Regions from separate parts of the Homo sapiens genome. Here all the other regions are linked to region 1. Evidence: promoter capture Hi-C in 16 types of primary human blood cells and fetal thymus (Javierre and others, 2016). All regions are on one chromosome and are shown on one strand. Each heading gives the region's core, a stretch centred on a gene start or on the middle of the fragment in contact. The rest is flanking DNA. Distances are from core to core; before and after follow the strand shown. Region 1 overlaps MYH14 (myosin heavy chain 14). Region 2 holds the start of KLK11 (kallikrein related peptidase 11). Region 3 holds the start of KLK6 (kallikrein related peptidase 6). Region 4 holds the start of KLK1 (kallikrein 1).

Evidence for each region. The method cuts DNA at HindIII sites, captures the fragments that hold promoters and counts their contacts. A CHiCAGO score of 5 or more calls a contact.
Region 2: the fragment with the promoter of KLK11 here is called in contact with a fragment that was not itself captured in region 1 in 7 of 17 cell types (naive B cells, fetal thymus, activated CD4 T cells and 4 more); the score reaches 6.9 in naive B cells.
Region 3: a contact is called between the fragment with the promoter of KLK6 here and a fragment that was not itself captured in region 1, in 9 of 17 cell types (naive B cells, total B cells, M1 macrophages and 6 more). The highest score is 8.6, in naive B cells.
Region 4: a contact is called between the fragment with the promoter of KLK1 here and a fragment that was not itself captured in region 1, in 5 of 17 cell types (total B cells, naive B cells, activated CD4 T cells and 2 more). The highest score is 8.2, in total B cells.

The regions. Positions count from the first base shown.
Region 1 is chr19:50,280,355-50,283,423 of GRCh38, reverse strand. MYH14 (myosin heavy chain 14) reads right to left here. Exons shown (of 43, transcript NM_001145809.2): 32 at 3,041-3,069; 33 at 1,582-1,830. Among named protein-coding and RNA genes, the nearest start is that of KCNC3, 47 kb to the left of the region's middle. The HindIII fragment of the contact is 2,331 bases long and covers 389-2,719 here.
Region 2 is chr19:51,025,213-51,028,281 of GRCh38, reverse strand. KLK11 (kallikrein related peptidase 11) reads left to right here and starts at 1,666. Exons shown (of 6, transcript NM_001136032.3): 1 at 1,666-1,744; 2 at 2,616-2,690. The coding sequence starts at 2,651. RefSeq lists enhancers at 355-911, 1,471-2,028, 2,029-2,587. The HindIII fragment of the contact is 2,362 bases long and covers 31-2,392 here.
Region 3 is chr19:50,968,337-50,971,405 of GRCh38, reverse strand. KLK6 (kallikrein related peptidase 6) reads left to right here and starts at 1,815. Exons shown (of 7, transcript NM_002774.4): 1 at 1,815-1,916; 2 at 2,815-2,865. It overlaps LOC105372442 (a long non-coding RNA gene), which reads right to left. Exons shown (of 7, transcript XR_007067308.1): 4 at 3,053-3,069. The HindIII fragment of the contact is 4,765 bases long and covers 1-3,069 here.
Region 4 is chr19:50,822,337-50,825,405 of GRCh38, reverse strand. KLK1 (kallikrein 1) reads left to right here and starts at 1,619. Exons shown (of 5, transcript NM_002257.4): 1 at 1,619-1,703. The coding sequence starts at 1,658. It overlaps KLK15 (kallikrein related peptidase 15), which reads left to right. Exons shown (of 6, transcript NM_017509.4): 6 at 1-117. The HindIII fragment of the contact is 16,614 bases long and covers 1-3,069 here.

The DNA of each region.
Region 1 (3,069 bases), core at 305-2,804:
TTGAGGCTGGGTGCGGTAGCTTACTCCTATAATCCCAGCACTTCGGGAGGCCGAGGTGGGTGGATCACTTGAAGCCAGGAGTTCGAGACCAGCCTTGCCAAAATGGTGAAACCTCGTCTCTATTAAAAACACAAAAATTAGCCAGGCATGGTGGTGCACACCTGTAATCCCAGCTACTTGGGAGGCTGAGGCACGAGAATCGCTTGAACCTGAGAGGTGGAGGTTGCAGTGAGCTGAGATCGTGCCACTGCACTCTAGCCTTGGTGACACAGCGAGACTCTGTCTCAAAAAAAAAAAATTATTTTGAGTAAAATAAGCCCATCCCAAAAGAGATTTATGTGAAAATAATTTATATAAAATTCCAGAAGATGCCAAAAATAATAAAGCTTCAATGACCTGTGGAAGAGTATTACAATCAAATCATATGTATTTGGAGTCCAAGAAGAAGGGGAAGGAGAGAGAGTGGGAGATAAAAATATTTGAAGAAATAATGGCTGAAATGTTCCACATTTGATCAAAAACATCAACCCACAGCTACAGGAAGCACAGTGAATCTAAAGCAGGATAAATACAAAAAACCCACAGCTGGGCATATCACAGTCAAACCACTAAGAACCAAACATAAAGAGAGAAATCGTAAGTCAGCTAGAAAAACATACTGCACCACCTACAGGGAAATGACAATTTAAAAAAATTTTTTTTAATTTTTTATTTTTTTTTTGAGATGGAGTCTTGCTCTATCACCCAGGCCGGAGTGCAGTGGCACGATCTTGGCTCACTGCAACCTCCGCCTTTCCAGTTCAAGTGATTCTCCTGCCTCAGCCTCCCGAGTAGCTAGGATTACAGGCGCACACCGCCATGCCCAGCTAATTTTTTTGTATTTTAGTAGAGACGGGGTTTCACCGTGTTGCCCATGCTGGTTGTGAACTCCTGAGCTCAGGCAATCCGCCCGCCTTGGCCTCCCAAAGTGCTGGGATTACAGGCATGAGCCACAGTGCCCAGCTTCACACTGCATTTTCTAAATGAATAAAATAAAGCACAGAGAGGTTGAGCAATTTGCCCAAGCCACACAGCCATCAAGAGGCCGAATTGGGATCTGAACCTCAGGATTGCCTGATCTGAACTCTCTAAGGTTCTGTGATTTTTATTTCATCCTCAGGCTGCCAGATGCTTGGTATTATTGCCATTTTCCAGATGGGCGAACTGAAGCTGAGATGGAAAAAGCAACTTGCCTGAGGTACCCCGTGAATCAGCAGAAGTGAGATGAGTTATTTGATTTAATTCTCATAAGCAATCTCTGGGGTACTGAAGGTATTCGTATATTTTGTCATCCAAAAACCAGGGCAGCTCTGAAAGTAAAAGTGGGTGCTACGAGGAATTATGCTGTGGCAAGAGGCATGAATCAGGACAGAGGGATGTCCTATTTTACAGAGGCCCAGAGCAAAGAAGGGTCTTGCTTCCTGGTCCACTACAACTGCCTAGTTGAGCCGTGACAGCACGGATTACTGGTTCCTCACAACGACCATGGGAAGCGTAGATGGACTTGCTGATTCCCCGGCTGGGTGAACTGAGGTGCCCCACCTGGTCAAACTTGCGCTGCTTCTTCTCCAGGGTGCTCACAAGCTGCCGCTGCTGCTCCAGGTCCATGGTGGCGTCGTCCAGCTCCTGCTGCAGCCGGCGGCGGCCCCGCTCCAGCCGATCCACGGTCTCTGTCTTTTCTGCCAGGCGCTGGGTCAGGGCCTCGGCCTCCCGGGCTGCCCGGCGCCGTGCCTCCTCCCCTGCCTCCAGTGCCCCTGCCTCCTCCTCCTGGCGCCGCCGCCACTCGGAAAGCTGAGGGGAGGAGAGAGAGGGTGGTTGGTGGTCACGGCCATGAGTGACCAAGGTGTAAGCTGGTGGTGCTCCATTTCCAGGATGAAGAGACTGAGGCCTGAAGAGGGAAAGGGGTCATTCTGCTGGGCTCTTCTGCCTCTGAGTGGTGTGAAGTTGTGAATACTATGAGCCCTAGTTCTTCCAGGGAATTAAAATTACTCCCTCCAAGATGCAGAGGTGAATCAGACCTGGAGTCTTTCCTGGGGAGCCCCTCGGCTGCTGGGGGAGACACAGAGTCACAGCCAGGGTGATAGGGGTTAAGGTAGCAGTATGGGAGCTATGGAGGTCCACAGGAAGTGCCCAGAATCTGTTTAGAACATTCAGGAGAAACTTCCTGAAGGAGGAGCATTTGAGATGGGTCTTGAAGTATGCATAGAAGTCTGCCAGTTGAAGGATATCTGCAGGCACGTACCATCACTCATTCATTCAATAGGCATTTCTCAACGCCTACCATACATCAGGCCCTATATCAGGCTGTGCTACAGACCTGGATCTAACTCTGATGGGATTCTAGTTTGAAGGGGCTCTCAGTCTGGTGGGGAGACTCATGGGCAGAGACAGTCCCAGCCCAAGGTGACTGGAGTTGGGACAGAGGAGAAAGAGAAGACGGGTCAGGAAACTTCCCACAGGGGAGCCTAATGCTAAGTCTGGAAAAATAAAAGGTTTTTTTCAAATAAAATAGGAAAGTAGAGATAGAGATGAATACAGCTAAAGGCAGAGGAAGGACCAGAGATTGCAGGGCCTCAATGCCTGACTGAGAGGCATGGACTTTGTCTAGGAGTACTGGGGAGGCGTGGGAGAGCTGTGAGCAGAGGAGGGACAGGGTCAGCTCCAGGTAAAGAAAGAAGCTTCTGGGGCTGTGCAGGGGATGAGCTGTTAGGGGAGAGGCTGGAGGCCCAGAGGCCAAGAGGAGGATCTAGATGGGAGAGGACGGCACTGGAGCTGGGGCTGAGCTGGAGCTGGGACAAGGGATGAGGCTGAGAGTCAGGGGTCAGGACAGCCAGGGCTGGGCATGGGCTGTGGGGGGTAAGGGGGAGTCAGAGATGAGAAAGGCACCCATGGGTCTGGCCTATGAGAAGGTGGGCAGCATGGCCATCCCTGAGCTGGGGAACCCAGGAGGAGCAGTGAGGGGGGCTGTGCCTCCCTGAAGGTCTTACGTAGGGCTGCTCACCTGGGCCTGGGCAGTCTGCAGTTCACGGC
Region 2 (3,069 bases), core at 417-2,916, 740 kb before region 1:
AATAGAAATAGTGCCCAGAGCTTATAAGCTTTTCAAGAGTCCACAAAAGACCCGAAAAAGAAAAAGAAAATTGTTAGCTCCAAAATACCAGATGAAAGCTGCAAAGTCAACATTTATGACCATTTAATCCAATGTCCATAAAACGTAGCATTCTTTCCACTAGCCAACTGCAGTTTACTTTCTTGTAATGAAGCATACATTGTATCTTTAATGTGGGACGTGGCTTTGTTCTAATAAGACGAAGGGTGGAGTGCAGGCTTGGAAAGCAGGAGAGCTCAGCCTACGTCTTTAATCCTCCTGCCCACCCCTTGGATTCTGTCTCCACTGGGACTCAAGAGGTGAGGAGAGACCATCTCCCCAAATGCACTGAAGGGAAACTGGAGGAGGGAGGGAGTGAGGGGTGATCATACCAGCGGAGGCACATTTGCTGAGCCCCCCCGCAGTCTGCTCTTTCCAAGTGGACCCTCCTGGAAGCCTGATCCCAACCTCCCCTGCAAGCAGGTCTGTCACCCCCATCTCTCAGATGAAGAAACTGAGCCTTGCAGGGGTGGAGTCCCTTGTCCCCACGTCATAAGGGTAGTCATAGTAGTAGGAAGAGGAAGCACCTAGGTTTGAGGCCAGGGCTGGCTGCTGTCAGAACCTAGGCCCTCCCCTGCCTTGCTCCACACCTGGTCAGGGGAGAGAGGGGAGGAAAGCCAAGGGAAGGGACCTAACTGAAAACAAACAAGCTGGGAGAAGCAGGAATCTGCGCTCGGGTTCCGCAGATGCAGAGGTTGAGGTGGCTGCGGGACTGGAAGTCATCGGGCAGAGGTCTCACAGCAGCCAGTAAGTGAACAGCTGGACTCGGGCTGCCTGGGCGGCAGGGAGAAGCGGGCAGGGGAAGGGTCAGCAGAGGAGCGAGGCCCCAGAGGAGCCCTGGGGTGGAGCACAGCCAAGGGCTCTGTTCCCTTTCCTGGACTCGGCTTCCACAGGCCCTGACCTGCCTCCCCCACCCTCCGGTCCTGCCCCTGTGCCTGGCAGCAGCCCCACCTGTGTGACATCCCAGCACACCCCCCCTCTCCTTGCAAAGGAGAAGGGAGCGGCCTAGGGGAGGCCAGGGGCCCACCTGGGCTGGGGCTGTGGAGAGGGAGTGGCTGGGACGGGAGGAAAAAGAGAGACGGAGATTAGATGGAAGAAGAGGGATTTCAAGACAAATTGCCAGAGATGCAGTCAGAGAGACTGACTGAGAGACACAAAGATAGAAGGAATTAGAGAAAGGGCCACACAGAGCCAGACAGAGAGAGAAGAGTGGAGATGGAGACAGGGACGAGGACAGAGAAAGGCAGACAGACACATAGGGACAGAAAGAGAAAAATCACACAAAGTCAGAATTACTGAATGACAGGGAATGACACATAGAACGAGACACAGATTCAGAGACTCAGGGCAGGGAAAGGAAGGCTGCAGACAGACAGACAGACAGAGGGAGGCTGAGACACAGGGAGAAGAGGGGCTTGGAGAGGTGGCACAGGCAGGCAGCCAGTGCCTCAGAGGCCTCCGGGGAGGGCCCTCACACACACCCCGCCCCGGGGCATTAAGGCAGGGCTTGGAGGCCAGTCATCCTGGGCCCGCCCAGGGCCGCCCCCCTGCCAGCCCGCCTGCCTGGTGCCTGGCACCTGGCGCTCCAACCCAGCCTACCTGCTGTAGCTGCCGCCACTGCCGTCTCCGCCGCCACTGGGCCCCCAGAGCCCCAGCCCCAGAGCCTGTGAGTCCAGGAGGAAAGGGAAGCTGCCCCTCCCCGTCCAGGTGTCAGCCCTCCCCAAGGACACCTGTCCCACTCGGGCACCCATTTCTCCCTCTGCTCTGTCCTTCTCTGCTTGGGTGGGGGTTCCTGGCCTCTCTCTACACCTCTCACCTCCGATGGCTGTCCGCAGCCTCAGTTACCTCTAATCTCCATGGCTTCAGCTGCTGAGCTGGCCCTCTGCTCCCACCCCCGCTGGCCAGGGCAGCGGAGGGCACTGGCCCTCCCCTCGACCAGCCCCGCCCAGCTTTGCTTGGCTGTCCTTCAAAAGGGCAGGGGTTTGGCGGACAGGGCTTCAGCAAGCCGGGTGATGGGGGTCCCAGACATTGTCTGGGGCTGAGCCCCCTACTCCCCTCCAGCAGACCTCAAAGGCTCCATATCGCTCTGCTGCGAAGACAATGAAAAAGGGGTGGCTACGGAACGGTGTCTGGTTCCCCTTGTCCTTCCACCCCAAGCTGCTGGGGCCTGGCCAGCTCTCAAGGCAAGAAGGAAAACATCCTCTGACATGTGCCGGGGAGGTCCCATGGCTGACTTGAACAGGGCCGAACCATGGCTTGACAGCTCAAAGCCCCTCCCAACGACTTCCACATGGTTCTTGGTATCTCGGAAGCTTCTAGCTGTGACCAGGCCCTCTCCAAGGCCACCCTAGACACCTAAGATATATTTTAAGTGTTTGGAGATCTGAGTGCTGTGAGAAACAGGGGATTTCCCCAACCTTGTTTCTCCCAAGTGGGGAGCGGGAGCAGGTGAGGGAGAGAGGAGAGGGCATGAGCCAGCCCCCCCCTCCCGATTTCCCCGTAAAGTGATGCGGCCCCATGTCCCTCCTTGTTCCCAGAGGAACCTGGGGCCCGCTCCTCCCCCCTCCAGGCCATGAGGATTCTGCAGTTAATCCTGCTTGCTCTGGCAACAGGTACGCAGGGGATGGGGGCAGGGCAGGATCCTCCCTCTTGAATCTCTGGGATCCCCTAACCCTCTGTGTCTGGACAGTGACAGGGCTGATTCCAAATTACAGAACAACCCATAAGGCACCTGAACTGGAGCAGTGGTCATGAGGGCCTGGATGCCCTTCTAGATAATCCCTTTAAATGCCAAAGGAGGAGAGGTCAAGGGGGTCGTAAAGGGTCCCGTGGAGGGGCTGAGGAAGCTGGAGTTGGGGGAGCAGTCACTCAAAGCGCCCAGGACAGGGGCTACTGACCAACCAGTATGGAAGTATTTCCTTTTTTTTTTTTCCCAGAGACAAAGTCTTGCTCTATTGTCCAGGCTGGAGTGCCGTGGTGCCAACACGGCTC
Region 3 (3,069 bases), core at 566-3,065, 690 kb before region 1:
GGAGAGGTGCAGCTCTGAGTTGGGGTTGAGGGTGTGGGTACAGAGAGGAAGGGACCCCCCAGAGAGAGGAGGCAGAGGGATAGGGCCTGGTCACTGGGTTGTGCAACATCAGACTTGCTGTCTGTGAAGATAGCACGTCCTGAGAAGAAGGTGCTGAGGTCAGTGGGGACCAAATGTGAGAGGGAGCACCCGGAGAGTATACTGAATACCGAAGTAGTCTTCATCCCTGGAGTGATGGGGGGTGCACAATGCAAGATGACAATTAGATTCAATGCAAGACAAAGAAAAGGGTTGGCTGGGAACAGTGGCTCATGCCTATGGTCCCAGCTCCTGGGAAGACTGAGGCGGGAGGGTCGCTTGAGCCCAGGAGGGTTGAGGCTGCCACGAGCAAGGATCGTGCCACTGCACTCCAGCCTAGGCGACAGAACAAGACCTTGTCTCAAAAGAAAAAAGAACTTTTTTTTTTAAGTTACCTGTAGTGCCCAGCCCAAGCAGGTGCTGAGCCAGACTTCATTCCTATCATTGTCCTTATTACGCAGTGACTTCCCCCTCCTCATTTCTCTCCACTCTGCCACGCACACACCCTCACCCTCCAGCCCATACCAACCACCCCAACCACTGCCTGTGGTTTCCCATGTGCACCCAGGCCAGGCATTTTCACGGCCTTTCCTCCTGACCTACGCCTGGCTCAGCTTTCTAGGCCCAAGTTCAAAGACACCTCCCTAAATCTTCCCAGATCCCTCTGCTACTGCCCAGCACCACCATCTTATCACAGCCCCACGTCGTTCCCAAGTGCTCTCCGATTTCTGCTTAACTCCATGCCTCTCGCTGTGTGTCCGCATCTCATCAATAAGTCCTCAAGTCCTCTTCCATCCTGCTAGCTTCCTCATCGCTCGGGAATCATCCCCGCTACTTCCTGGGGAAACTGACTCCCTTCTGGGCACACACAGTGCTACCCCCGGGGAAATCTAAGAAGAGACCCAGGAGAAGATAAGCACGGAGAGTCAGAGAATCAAGGGGAAAGAAAGGGAGAGAGGCCGGGCACAGTGGCTCACACCTGTAATCCAGCACTTTGGGAGGCCAAGGTGGGTGGATCACCTGAGGTCAGGAGTTTGAGACCAGCCTGGCCAACATGGTGAAACCTCTTCCCTACTAAAAATACAAAAAACATTTAGCCGGGCGTGGTGGTGGGTGCCTGTAATCCCAGCTACTTGGGAAGCTGAGGCAGGAGAACTGCTTGAACTCAGGAGGCGGAGGTTGCAGTGAACTGAGATCACACCACTGCACTCCAGCCTGAGTGACAGAGCAAGACTCCGTCAAAAAAAAAGAAAGAAAGAAAGAAAAGAAGGAAGGAAAGAAAGAAGGAAGGAAGGAAGGGAGGAAGGGAGAGAGGAAGGGAGAGAGGAAGGGAGAGAGAGAAAAAAAGAGGGAGAGAGACACAAATACAGAGACTGAGATGGGAGAGAGAGAGAGATGGAAGCTCCCTCCCCTCCATGGCCAGGGAGACAGATGGAGCAAGAGACCTCAGGGGTGGGCAGACTTGGAGGAGAAGGACCAGGAGGATGTGGAGTGCCGAAATCTCCAGTCAGGGCCAGGTGGGCAGTCAGAGACTGCAAAGGAGGACTGTCAGACAGGGACAAAAGGAAGCCATTGATGTAACCGCCCTCCCGCCTGCCCGCCGGAAGAGAGGTTGAGGCCGGAGCTGCTGGGAGCATGGCACTGGGGTGCTGGGGGCGGACAAAGCCCGATTGTTCCTGGGCCCTTTCCCCATCGCGCCTGGGCCTGCTCCCCAGCCCGGGGCAGGGGCGGGGGCCAGTGTGGTGACACACGCTGTAGCTGTCTCCCCGGCTGGCTGGCTCGCTCTCTCCTGGGGACACAGAGGTCGGCAGGCAGCACACAGAGGGACCTACGGGCAGGTGTGTGAGTCACCCCAACCGCACTGAACCTGGGCAGGCTGCTTCCCAGTGCCGGAGGGCTCTAGAGCCCGGAGTGAGGGCCTGCAGGTCCCTGGGTGGCACAGAGAGTGCTGGGGGTGCAGGGAGGCCTGGGGCACCATCTGCTTGCCCCAGAGGCCGGAATTTGTCTTCAGACACTTTCTTTCTCCAAAACCCGGAGGTCTAAGGACTGAGCCGACTAGAACTTCCTCTGCCTCAGATTCAGGCCCCAGCCCCTCCTCCCTCAGACCCAGGAGTTTAGGTCCTAGCCCCTCCTCCCTCAGACCCAGGAGTCCAAGTTCCCACCTCCTCCCTCAGACTCAGGAGTCCAGGCCCCCAGCCCCTCCTCCCTCAGACCCAGGAGTCCAAGTTCTCACCTCCTCCCTCAGACCCAGGAGTCCAGGCCCCAAGCCCCTCCTCCCTCAGACGCAAGGGTCCAGGCCCCCAGCCCCTCCTCCCTCAGACTCAGGAGTCCAGGCCCCCAAGCCCCTCCTCCCTCAGACCCAGGAGTCCAGGCCCTCACTGCACTCAGGGACCAGTGCTCCCTTCCCTGGAGGCCTGGTCAGGGGTCACCAAGAGCAGAGCGTGGGGGCGGGAGGAATGTGTGTGGGAGGCCTGGGTAAGGAGGAAAAGGGTGTAGCCAGTCTCCTGGCTCAGGGACCTGAGAGACAGGGGTTAAAAGGACGTTCCAGAAGCATCTGGGGACAGAACCAGCCTCTTCCAGGGAGGCCTGGGAGCTGGGGGTGTGTGTCTGGCAGTCCCTGCAGCCCTGGGCTCTGCGGCCCCTGCGTCCTCCGCTTGGCTCTGCCACTGCATCTGAGTGTCTTCTCTCCTCACGGCTCCCCGCATTTCTAACTCTTTCTGCCTCCTCGTCTCAAAGCTGTTCCTTCCCCCGACTCAAGAATCCCCGGAGCCCGGAGGCCTGCAGCAGGTGAGATCACAGACATCACAGAACCTGCCGGGTGGGCGGGGTGGGTGGCCATTGCGCACAGAGCCAGGCTCCGAGGAAAACTCCCATACAGAGGAAGAACGCTAGGGCCCCCTAGGGTAACCCTCTCCTGTCGACAGGAAGGCAAATCAGTGCCCAAGAAAGTAGAAAGATCTAATCAGAATCTCACCATGGGTTACTGGACCA
Region 4 (3,069 bases), core at 370-2,869, 540 kb before region 1:
TCGCCTTGGTTTCCTTATCTGTAAAATGAGACCATCTTATTGCTGACTTCAAAGGGCTGTTGTGAGGATTAAATGAGATGATTCGTCTGAACTGATTAAAATCGTGTCTGGCACTGAGTAAATACCCTCTATCTCTGGATCCCAGTTAAAGGACCTAACAGACACTAGATTACCAAGAATGGCTTTTTCTTTAAGGTTTAGTTCTGGGCCGGGCATGGTGGCTCACACCTGTAATCCCAGCACTTTGGGAGGCCAAGGCGGGCGGCTCACTTGAGGTCAGGAGTGCAAGACCAGCCTGGCCAACATGGTGAAACCCCATCTCTACTAAAAATACTAAAAAAATTTAGCCGGGCGTGGTGGCACACGACTGTAATCCTAGCTACTTGGGAGGGTGATGTGGGAGGATCGCTTGAACTTAGGAGGCAGGAGTTGCAGTGAGCCGAGATCGCGCCACTGCACTCCAGCCTGGTGACAGAGCAAGACTCCATCTCAGAAAAAAAAAAAAAAAAAAAAAGATTTAGTTCTGGGCTTCCTGGTAGCCATGGCAAAAAGGCAAATACTGTCCTTTCCTTAGCCAGGTCCCTGATATACAGCAGAGGCTGGAACTCTGAGCTGCTTTGATTTTACCAAAAAGCCAAGACAACCTGTTGGAAGCCTATGGGTTTACCATTGAGGCTGCAGGAATCTAGTTCCTAATTATCTTCAGAGACCACAAAATGTGATGTTCAAGGTCGCTGAATGTTGAAGTACATGAACCTGGCTCGTGAGACCTAAATATTGTACTGGTGGTGGGGGGGAAGGGTCATTGGAATCTGTGGTTAGCCTGATCTTGACCTGGGAGGGAAGGTTGTCCAGATCTCTGGGACTTTGGAGGACAGGACGTTGAGCACCCATAACTGGGAGCAAGAAGTGGGAGGCTCATTGAGACCCCAGCATTGTTTGGGAGGGACACTGGATTTTGTAATGCTAAAGAACTTACCCTGGGAGACCCCTGAAACTTCACATTCCTGGATCTGGAGGCACTAGGAATGTGGTGATGTGTACCCCAAAATTTTATTATGAAAGGAACAGTAGCTTTGGGGACCTAGGTCCTGGGTCTGGGAGTGCAAGAACCAGGGCATTCTGAAGGCCAAGGCTTATATTTCAGGGGGAACTGGCAGCTGAGATGCTAGTATCTTGGCTCCGAGTGGTGCAGGGAATCAGAGCCCTAACTGCTGGTGTTTGAGGGCACCAGGTCTGGGGGTGCAGGGCCTTAATTGAGACTGAGGTATATGGGGCTTTGTACCAGGGGTCACTGATTCCTCCGTCTTCCTGTTTCTGCTTCCCCTCAGTCCCCCCTTGCCTCACTGGCTGCTCCCCAGAGCAAAGCCCCAGAGCCACAGGCCCTGCCCCACCTGGCTTCAACCCCAGGAATGCGTCCAGCGTGATCCAGGGCCTGCAGAACAGGTGCTGGTTCTCCCTCCCCGTCTACAGCTCTGGGGATCGGAGGGGGGGGGGGCAATTGTCCAGCCCCCAGGCAACAGGGGAAGGGCCTTGGCCAACATCTGGGTGCCAGCAGGGCAGGGGTGGGGCTCTGAGGGGATAAGGGCTTTTAAAAGCCTCCCCAGGGAGGTTCCCCAGTTCCTCCACCTGCTGGCCCCTGGACACCTCTGTCACCATGTGGTTCCTGGTTCTGTGCCTCGCCCTGTCCCTGGGGGGGACTGGTGAGACAGTGGGGGGATGTGGGAGGGGGAACGGGCCCTGATTCTCTTGCTGGCCTCACATCCCCCCCCGATAAGACCTTCCCCTCCAACACCCCACCCTCATCCCTCTGGCCCACAGTCTATCCTAGTCCGGGGTGCCCCGGCTCTTATCTATCTTGCGCGGCCCCACCCTAAACTTCCACCCCCGCTCCTCCATGTTGTCATAGTGCTCACTCCCACACCAGATTCCTGCTCCTCCCAGGAAGCCTCAGTACTTTCTCCTCTTCCCTAGCCAACGCCCTGTCCCACCGCTTTACCAAAGGGGCAGATTCTGGGCCATCTCTGTCTCTCTCTGGAGGACCCCAACCCTCCCATGGGCTTCCCCCACCCCACAGGACTCTGATCATCCCCTCCTGCCCCCTAGTTCCCTGCGGCCACCTATTTGGCTCCTGAGTCTACAAATCCCACCACACTCCAGTGACTTTTTCCATCCAGCTGTCCGCTCTCAACTGTGTCCTCCAGACCCTGACATCTGGTCTCCCCAGTCCTTCCAGGGTCCCCCAAATTTCACCAGAAAACCCTGCTTCCCAAACTGGCATGTGGGATCCCCCATCTGGTATGGGGGGGGGTCTGCAAATGTCCCTTCCCACCCAGCACCCCCAGCTCTCCCAGGAAAAACACCACACCCTCCCACCACATGCTCCTTTCCTTGGGGAAGTTCCATCCCGCCCCAGGCCCCAGCCCTTCTCTGCCTGAATTGTTCCTACACAGCTCTGGTTTTCTGGAACCCCACCCCAAGGATCCTGAATGCCTTCTCAGCCAGCGCTTCTGCCCTGGCCTCCCCCAAGTCAGTATGTGATTCTACAACCTCACGTCAAGTGGGTCCTGCATTGCATTCCCACAGCTGCTTGGCGCCTGTTCTCACCACTTCTCCAATCCTCTTCCTAGGATTGCCTCCAAGAGGACCCCATATCCTTCCAGTACCCTCAGACCATGAACCCCATCCCCATGAGAAACGAAGATCCCATCCTTCACCCTGTCCGAGAAGGACTGCCACTCACGCCTCCCTCCTCCTGAGCCCCGTCCCAGTCCTGACCGCAACTGTGTTCTCAGGGCCCCAACCTCCCCTCAGATTGCCATTCCTGGTTCACAGGAAGGACCCCAAAACCTCTCGGAAGCCCACCTCTAGCCTTAACCATAGCCCTTTCTTTTACCCTTTAACCAGGAAGCCCTGAAATCTAACTGTCCCAGCCAAGCTGGCCCCTTCCAACCCCAATGTAGGGACCCCAAGTCACCCCCAAACTCTTCAGTCCAGATGCTCTTCTTTACCTCTCAGACCTGGTTCCCTAAAGCTGCATCCTTTCCTGAACCTCAAAAGCCCAACCCA